Linked DNA regions of Homo sapiens: region 1 is linked to region 2. The links are contacts of gene promoters, found by promoter capture Hi-C in blood cells and fetal thymus (Javierre and others, 2016). All regions are on one chromosome and are shown on one strand. Each heading gives the region's core, a stretch centred on a gene start or on the middle of the fragment in contact. The rest is flanking DNA. Distances are from core to core; before and after follow the strand shown. Region 1 has its middle 3.6 kb from the start of PAG1. Region 2 holds the start of MRPS28 (mitochondrial ribosomal protein S28).

Region 1 (3,791 bases), core at 1,264-3,763, 1.1 Mb before region 2:
ATCTCCAGGGTCCCTTGACTTTTTATCAGACTGCAATTGTGCTTTTATTCATCCCCCAAAGAATTTGTTTCAGACTCTGCTGAGGGTCTGACCACCAGCCACACAAGTAACATCTCAAGCACCAGTTTTTGTTACCTGTTCAGAACCACAGGTTTGACCATTGCCAAGTGTATGAAAACTCTGGGGAGCCTGCATTCTCACTAGCACTCACTAGCATTGACCATCAACCCTCTCTAGAAGGTGTTCTCTTCTTTGGGAGTAGAGAACAAAAGAAGAGAATTCAGCAGAAACTGAATGCTCTTCAGAGGGAAGTAGGAATAGGTAAATGGCTGATTCTTTCAGAAAATAATTATGTTATTTTGTGGATACTGATACTATTTTCTGATACTATTATCCCCATTTTTCAGATAAGGAACCTTATGCAAACTGAAGAAGAAAGCCATGTAAACAAAGAATAATCTTCCACTTTTAATGGGCTTGTGGCTCACAGAGAAAGCCACTTTCTGCTGAATTTCCTCTTCCTGTCATCTGTTGTAGCTATATAACAAGAGACAGCTTCCATTTTAGGGAGAGTACAAGACTGAGAGCAGAAAAGTCTATTTGCTGAAAAGGTGTTGAGAGGGCGGGACTGGAGGAAGATGTATAAAGGCAAGAAATGACAGAAATGCTTTAGCCACTATAAGTCTTTCACATATTTCTAATGTTGGAGATGGCACAACTCACTTCTTTTGGAATTGAATTTCAAAATCTTCCTTTCTCAATGCTGAAGTTTTGCTTGCTGGCAGGCAACTGGTTGGCTACTAAGGAAACACGCAGTTTTCTCTGATGCCTGCTTAAAATATGTTTATAAAAATTGTATTATATTGAAGTGATAAAGGCAGAAGAATTAAAAGTGAGCTTAAGGAATCTCTACCAACATTCTGAGTATCTACATCAGTTTTACAGGCACACATCTTGAGTGTTGATGTCAGGATAGAACTTTAAGGAATGTGTAAGGTCAGGATGACAAAGGACAATGGAAATGTCCATTCTCAAATCTGTAATATAAAGGCATTTCTTTAAAGCACTCTATTTTCACTTTTATAGCTACTGTCTCTTGCCACCATAATTTCTTTCTCCCGGTAGAAAGATATGAAAATGTCAAGTCCTTAAGCCTTGACTTTTCCTCTACAGTATAGTGTGAGGCTGCAGAGCTACATTAGTAGGTTTTGCCCTGATCTCCCTTGAAAGCCTTTTCTACACGATTCTCCTGTCCTCAGAGGAGCCCTAAAGTCACTCTTAAGTCTTCTGATGGAGAAGGAAAGTACTCTCTTAAAAACTACAGTTCATCATGGTTTACATTAAAATGATAAAATAGACACTAAGAGATGTCTAGTTTCAGATTTTAACTCTAGGAGAGATTTTGTAAAGCCCACCACTAATAGCTAGCATATTCGGAACCTAATATGTGCTTGAAGCTCTTGTTACTGTGTATTAGGTAATCAAAGATGGCAGTCACGTGATTACAGCTGATGGATGGAGATGCTGGGAGTGGGGGCCAGACAGCCTGTGAGGTTCGCACTGTGCAGCATGGCCTCTCCCCCAGCTGCTCTCTCCTTTTATTAGTGGGCAATTTGGTTGGGAGGGAGGAAAAAGTAACTCTTAGAGATTGAAATTGAGGGTATATTTTGTAGTAGTTCTTTAAAGCATCTATCATGGGTTTTAAGGAATTTATAATCTATTTCTTAACCTCTGATCCCTCTTTCCTATAGACAAAGTCACACGTGGAATCCTCAGCACTTTAAGTTCAGGTAAGCTGTGAGTTGCCAGCAGAGTCTTGATTGCTTGCTCTCTAATCTTGCTCACAGGCCATTGCCCAGTCTTATCTCAGAAGCTGCTGATACTCAGTCTCCACCAGCCTTTGCTCCTCAGCAACCAAAGGCCACTTCCTGCCTTCCTTCTTCCATCCCTAAATTCCATCCTGTCCCAGCCCCCGACCCCATTCCTGCCTTAGCCCAACATCCCTACCCATCACCTATTTCTTCTCAGGTTCAGGGTTATAATTAACACTCTATTAGCTTTTTTTGTTGTTAATAGAGACTTAAAAAACATTATGGAGCTAGCCTGAAAATCCTGATTATTTATTATATTGACTGCTCTAAATTGTAAGTGAGATAACTTAGACATGAACATTTACAATGCAGGCACGTCGTAAGTTTCCTGCATTAGGGCAAGAATTGGGCTTTCTAATACTTTTCTAAAGTTTCTCGGGAAAGAAGACAGGACCCTAATCTCCCCCAATCCCATCTACACCAGGGATTCAGTGATGGTTTCCAGTGAAGTTATCAGCTGCTGCATGTGTTCAAACAAGGCAAACTTTGTAATAAGCCATGTCCACAAATCAAGCACAACTTGTATTAATTTTTATGGCAAGCTTATTTTTCACCAAGTGGCATCTAATTCCTTCCTCCCAACTGTCTCACTCTTGCTAGTCACCTTGGACTCCCCACAGTTCTCTTATCTGGACTGTGTCTATGAAGTAAGTGAAGATTTTCATGTCAAAGAATCCCTTTGAGTGAAATGGATGAAGAAATGTAATTAATAAAGGTGGAGAATTTTTGAGCCTAAGCTTTCCAGCTCAGTTGGTAAGCCTGTGATTTTTAGCAGAAAGACTTTAATAAAAATCTATCCTAGGTACAGTTTCTGCATGAGGGAAGAATAGTTTCAGTGGAGTCATTAGTGTCTATATAATTGAATATCTCACTACTAGGACTTTTAGAGGCATTGAAGGAAGGAATTCTCAGCCAAAGAGTAGGCCTTGCTGACCCATAAGGAATACAGACCTCAGAGAAAAAGATGTAGCTGCGATTTCTGCCAGACAATCAATAGCAGCTGATGTGAAATAAATTCTAAATACAGACACAGTCAATATCAAGACACAGTCAATATTAAAGCACAGTCAATATAGTATCAAGACAATATTATATATTTCATGTATTTAATGCCAATAACAATGGTTCAAAATTCAATAGCAGTAGGACACACCAATTAATAGTAACTTTTTATTTAATTAAATCTTGGATCTCTTGAAATCAATATACAAATGAATTATGTAAATATTTTGATTGAAATGTCGGGCACCTAAGAAAACAATGACAACTTTGGGTTCTTCTAAAGGTCCCAACATGACTATTCTGCTACCTTCATATTTAAAATATATATATATTTCTTATTAAAAACTGAAGTAAGTTTTACAACCTGTGATGTACCAGCTCCTTCAAAGAATTCTTTTTTCTTAGGAATTAATTTCATAATCACACCGAAGAATGGCTGTAATGGAAGAGTTAGATAAGAAGTAAAGATAAAGGCAGGTAGACCACAGTTGGCAGTGTAGCATTCCCAGTCAAACCTCTGGATTAGAAGACTGTATATAACTATCACATACTTGCTTCCAAAACATTACTCAGACCGAGAGTATAGCCCATAGCATCTACCACAAGCACAAGAATTGATCCTGACACTTTTGGTTCTCTATCTAGGAGTGGCTTTGAAATACATTTGAGTTCCAATTTACTGATGGCAAATCCTGATATGAAAAATTTGGAAATGAAAAACAATCCTCAGCATGTTACTTGGTGAAAAGAGAGCAGAGGAAAAGGACAGAGGCTAGAGATTGGCTCCTGCCTGCATTCGTGAATTTGTCTAAATCACTTAGCTTCTGAGCCTGGGTAAAATGAGGATGGTAATTACACTTGTCACCAGATAACGTGAATATTGCCCTTCAAACTCCTCAATGAAGCCTGCACTGTGGA
Region 2 (3,875 bases), core at 497-2,996:
ATTTTTGTATTTTTAGTAGAGACAGGGTTTCACCATGTTGGCCAGGCTGATCTCGAACTCCTGACTTCAGGTGATCTGCCCTCCTTGGCCTCCCAAAGTGCTGGGATTACAGGTGTGAGCCACCACGCCAGGGGTGTGTTTTTACGGATACTTGAGTTTTGCACTTTTCACCCATGCTGGAGTGAAGTGGCAGGAACATAGCTCACTGCAGCCTCAAACTCCTGGGCTCAAGTGATCCTCCTCCATCAGCCTCCCAAGTAGCCGGGACTACAGGCATGCACCACTGCCCCAGGCTGATTTTTCTATTTTTTGGTAGAGACTGGTTCTTGCTATGGCCCAAGCTGGTCTCGGACTCCTCATCTCAAGCAATCCTCCCTCCTCAACCTCACAAAGTGCTGGGATTACAAGTGTAAGCCACCCTGCCCAGTCAGACTGAGGGTTCTTGAAGACCACTGGCCATGCTCTTTACAATTTACCACACTTTCTCCTGAAAAAAAGTGGAAGTAGCACTATCCGTAGAAAATAATGTTCTAGGCAAGAGTCCATTAATAGTCTCGGGAGATAAACAGTTTTAACTGCCAAGAGGGAGAACTCACCTGGAGAATTTAATGAATTTGTAAGGACTACCATACAGTTAGCTAGTAATAATTTTATGTGATTCATACAATTGTGCACCATTCTGAGATCAGTGTACTTCGTGTTCTTAACACTATCTGTACCATTAGAGAGCATCAGAAAAGCTTAAAACCCATAGTCAAGGCATTCTTAAAATAGGGTCTGTGATCATAAAAATTCTTTCTCTCGAAGTACTTGCAAATGAACTGGAAAGGTGTGTGCCCCCAAAATAAAACTAACTGTGGATTAATATTAAACTGCTGGGTCAAAGATAGACGGACAACTAATTAATAAACACTTAAGAATGATGTTAGGCTGTTTTGAACAGGGTGGGTAAATTTTGGGAATTAACACTGCAGGAGAAAAGGGAAAGAAAATCCAGAGTGAGGGTGGGGGCCTACGGCGGTGCAATACTTAGGGACATTCCAAAACTTCTGAACTCCTAAGTTAGATAATAGGTATCTAGAGGTGTCAAAACATTTCAGAAAAACTATTTTTGTGGCGTGAGTGGACTGGCTGCAGAAGTGGCAAAGGACAAACTTGGATGCAGGGTTTGGCAAATGTTGGGTGAGCCCTAATCTGTGCCTGGTGCTAGGGACCCTACAGCAAAGTTCCTCTTTTCAAAGTTTAAAAAGTTGGGAGTAGACACTAAATATTATTAAATATTTAATATTAATATGTGGCATATTAGAAAGTGCTACATGGTACTAAGAAAAACAGGTGCCAGAGAGTCTGCATTTGGGCTTCCACTTCTAAATAGGGTAATCAAGGAGACCCTCATATTTGAGTGAAGACCCCAAACTCGAGTGCTGGCGGCCATGTAGGGGGGACGGCAGGGCGGGAGAACGAGCGTCGCGTTAGCAGAATTTACAGTACAATGGGGTCCAACGGATGCCCAGGAAGGCGAAATTCCTGCAAGTTAAACGCACTTCTAACGCAAAACTTAACCAGGCCCCTTTCCAACTATTTAGCCCACCAATTTTAGCTTAAGTCTCTTCTTCCCCACGCCACTCCCAGATGAAAGGAAGACACGCCTCGTTGGCCTCCAGAGCTCTGCGTCCGGGGGGCGGACCTCTCATAGCTCCGCCCCGTGACCCGCGCGCTTGCGGAGGGGAGGTCAAAGGTCAGAGGTAAAGAAGTCATGGCGGCGCTGTGTCGGACCCGTGCTGTGGCTGCCGAGAGCCATTTTCTGCGAGTGTTTCTCTTCTTCAGGCCCTTTCGGGGTGTAGGCACTGAGAGTGGATCCGAAAGTGGTAGTTCCAATGCCAAGGAGCCTAAGACGCGCGCAGGCGGTTTCGCGAGCGCGTTGGAGCGGCACTCGGAGCTTCTACAGAAGGTGGAGCCCCTACAGAAGGTGGAGCCCGGGCGGGTGAGAGGGAGTCGCGGGAATTACGCCAACGACGCGGTGGGCGGGGTCGGGAATAGGGGCGGAGCCTGGCTTAGGAAGGGGAGCTGAGGTCCGGGGCCCAGTTTTCCGGAGTTGCGGTGCGTTGTGGCTCAGCCCTCGGCCCCTAGAATCTGTGCTTGGTGTTTTTCTTCCTTTCGTTGTCCTTTTGTGTGGCATTTGCGTACTGGGCCGGGTCTGTCCACACTGCGCTTGTTTTCCTGGGATTGAATGCTGGTGGGAAGGTAACCAGCGGGGAGCGCTGCTGGGGAGGCGATCTAGGGCGATTCCTGGGACGCTAAGGAGAATGGGACTCACACGGAGAGGCAGGGCTCTGCTGGGTCTTGTTCTGAACAGTAGCTCTAGCATGGAGCTTGCTGTCTGGAGTAGAAGGCCCTTCATAAACATTTGTTAATTTAATGACTGGGTGATGAATCACTTTCTGAACTTGGGCAAGTGATTTAACTTGTCAGCGCTTCACCTCTCTTTTGTAAATGTCTTCTTTTTTTAAAAAGTAAAGTAAAATCTCCGTTTGTCTCAGCCAGTACTTTTGTAAAATACCATAAATTTATAGATAAATGAAATGGAAGAAATAAAATTACAAGCCTAAGTTTTTAATAATTAAACTCAGCAGACATGAAATTGAATTATATACAAATAAACTCTCAATTTCTGTATTTTTCTTCCTAGGGAGTAGTACCAAACAGTTCACAAGACTGGCAGTGTCCTGGGTTATAGGGTCATTTTAGTAGCAATTACTGATGTCAAAATTTTTCTGAAATCCAAGGACTAGAAGAAGCCTGGTATATTAGTTTATTATTTTCTGTTGTAACAAATTACTACAAATTTAGTGGCGTAAAACACAGGAAATGTGTTGTTGTTAGGGTTGTGAGAAGTCAGACGGGATCTCACTGGTCTAAAATCAAGGTGTTGGTGAAGTTGTGTTCTTTTCCGTAGCTTCTAGGAGAATCTCTTCCTGGCCTGTCTTTTCTGCCTCTGTTTTCTACTTTTTTGTTTTTTGGATTTTTTTGTTTGTTTTGTTGTTTTTTGAGACAGGGTCTCGCTCTGTCACCCACGCTGGAGTGTGGTGGCATGATCTCAGTTCACTGCTAAACCCCCTGGGCTCAAGTGATCCTCCTGCTTCATAGCTGGGACCGCAGGTGTGCACCACCACTCTGGGCTAATTGTTTTTTCTGTTTTTTTTTGTAGAGATGGGGTTTTGCCATGTTGCCCAGGCTGGTCTTGAACTCCTGGGTTCAAGTGATCCTCCTGCGTTGGCCTCCCAAAGTGCTGGGATTACAGATGACAGATGTGAGCCACCTGGCCTGGCTGACCCCGCCCGGCCCCGCCCCCCCCGCCCGTCTTCTGCTTTTGAGATCCCTGTGATTACATTGGCCTCCCTAGATAATCTATTTTAAGATCAGCTGATTAGCAATCTTAATTCCACCTGCAAAGTTAATTCTCCTTTGCCACGGAAGGTAACATATTCACAAATTCTAGAGATTAGGATGTGGATGTCTTTGTAGGGGGAGGGGGCATTATTCTTTCTACCATATATGGAGAAGTCATAAAATACTAGCAGAATAGCGATGATTGACCTGAAGCCACCTAAGGGATGGATTTTAGATCCATCCTTAAGGTAAGGCCATAAGAGTTAAGTGCAGTAAGGTTGGAAACATAGAGTTCAGTGCTCCCTTCCAAATATATGTATAGGAAAGGAGTTTTTCTATTTCTTACCTAATATTTCTCACTCACGCTTCGCTCCCATTCATACCACATTCTAAGCCCCTTCGGAAACCCCCCAAAATAATTCTCAATTGCTGAGTTAACTGTGGTAAGAGTGAAAATTGTAGCATCACATGTATAGTAAGTTAAG

Evidence for each region. The method cuts DNA at HindIII sites, captures the fragments that hold promoters and counts their contacts. A CHiCAGO score of 5 or more calls a contact.
Region 1: a fragment that was not itself captured here is called in contact with the fragment with the promoter of MRPS28 in region 2 in 1 of 17 cell types (fetal thymus); the score reaches 5.4 in fetal thymus.

The regions. Positions count from the first base shown.
Region 1 is chr8:81,113,822-81,117,612 of GRCh38, reverse strand. No RefSeq gene overlaps it. Among named protein-coding and RNA genes, the nearest start is that of PAG1, 3.6 kb to the right of the region's middle. The HindIII fragment of the contact is 195 bases long and covers 2,416-2,610 here.
Region 2 is chr8:80,028,130-80,032,004 of GRCh38, reverse strand. It overlaps MRPS28 (mitochondrial ribosomal protein S28), which reads left to right and starts at 1,746. Exons shown (of 3, transcript NM_014018.3): 1 at 1,746-1,969. The coding sequence starts at 1,757. All of the region lies in intron 5 of TPD52-MRPS28 (TPD52-MRPS28 readthrough), which reads left to right. It also overlaps a transcript of TPD52 not described here. RefSeq lists an enhancer at 1,594-2,023. The HindIII fragment of the contact is 3,845 bases long and covers 743-3,875 here.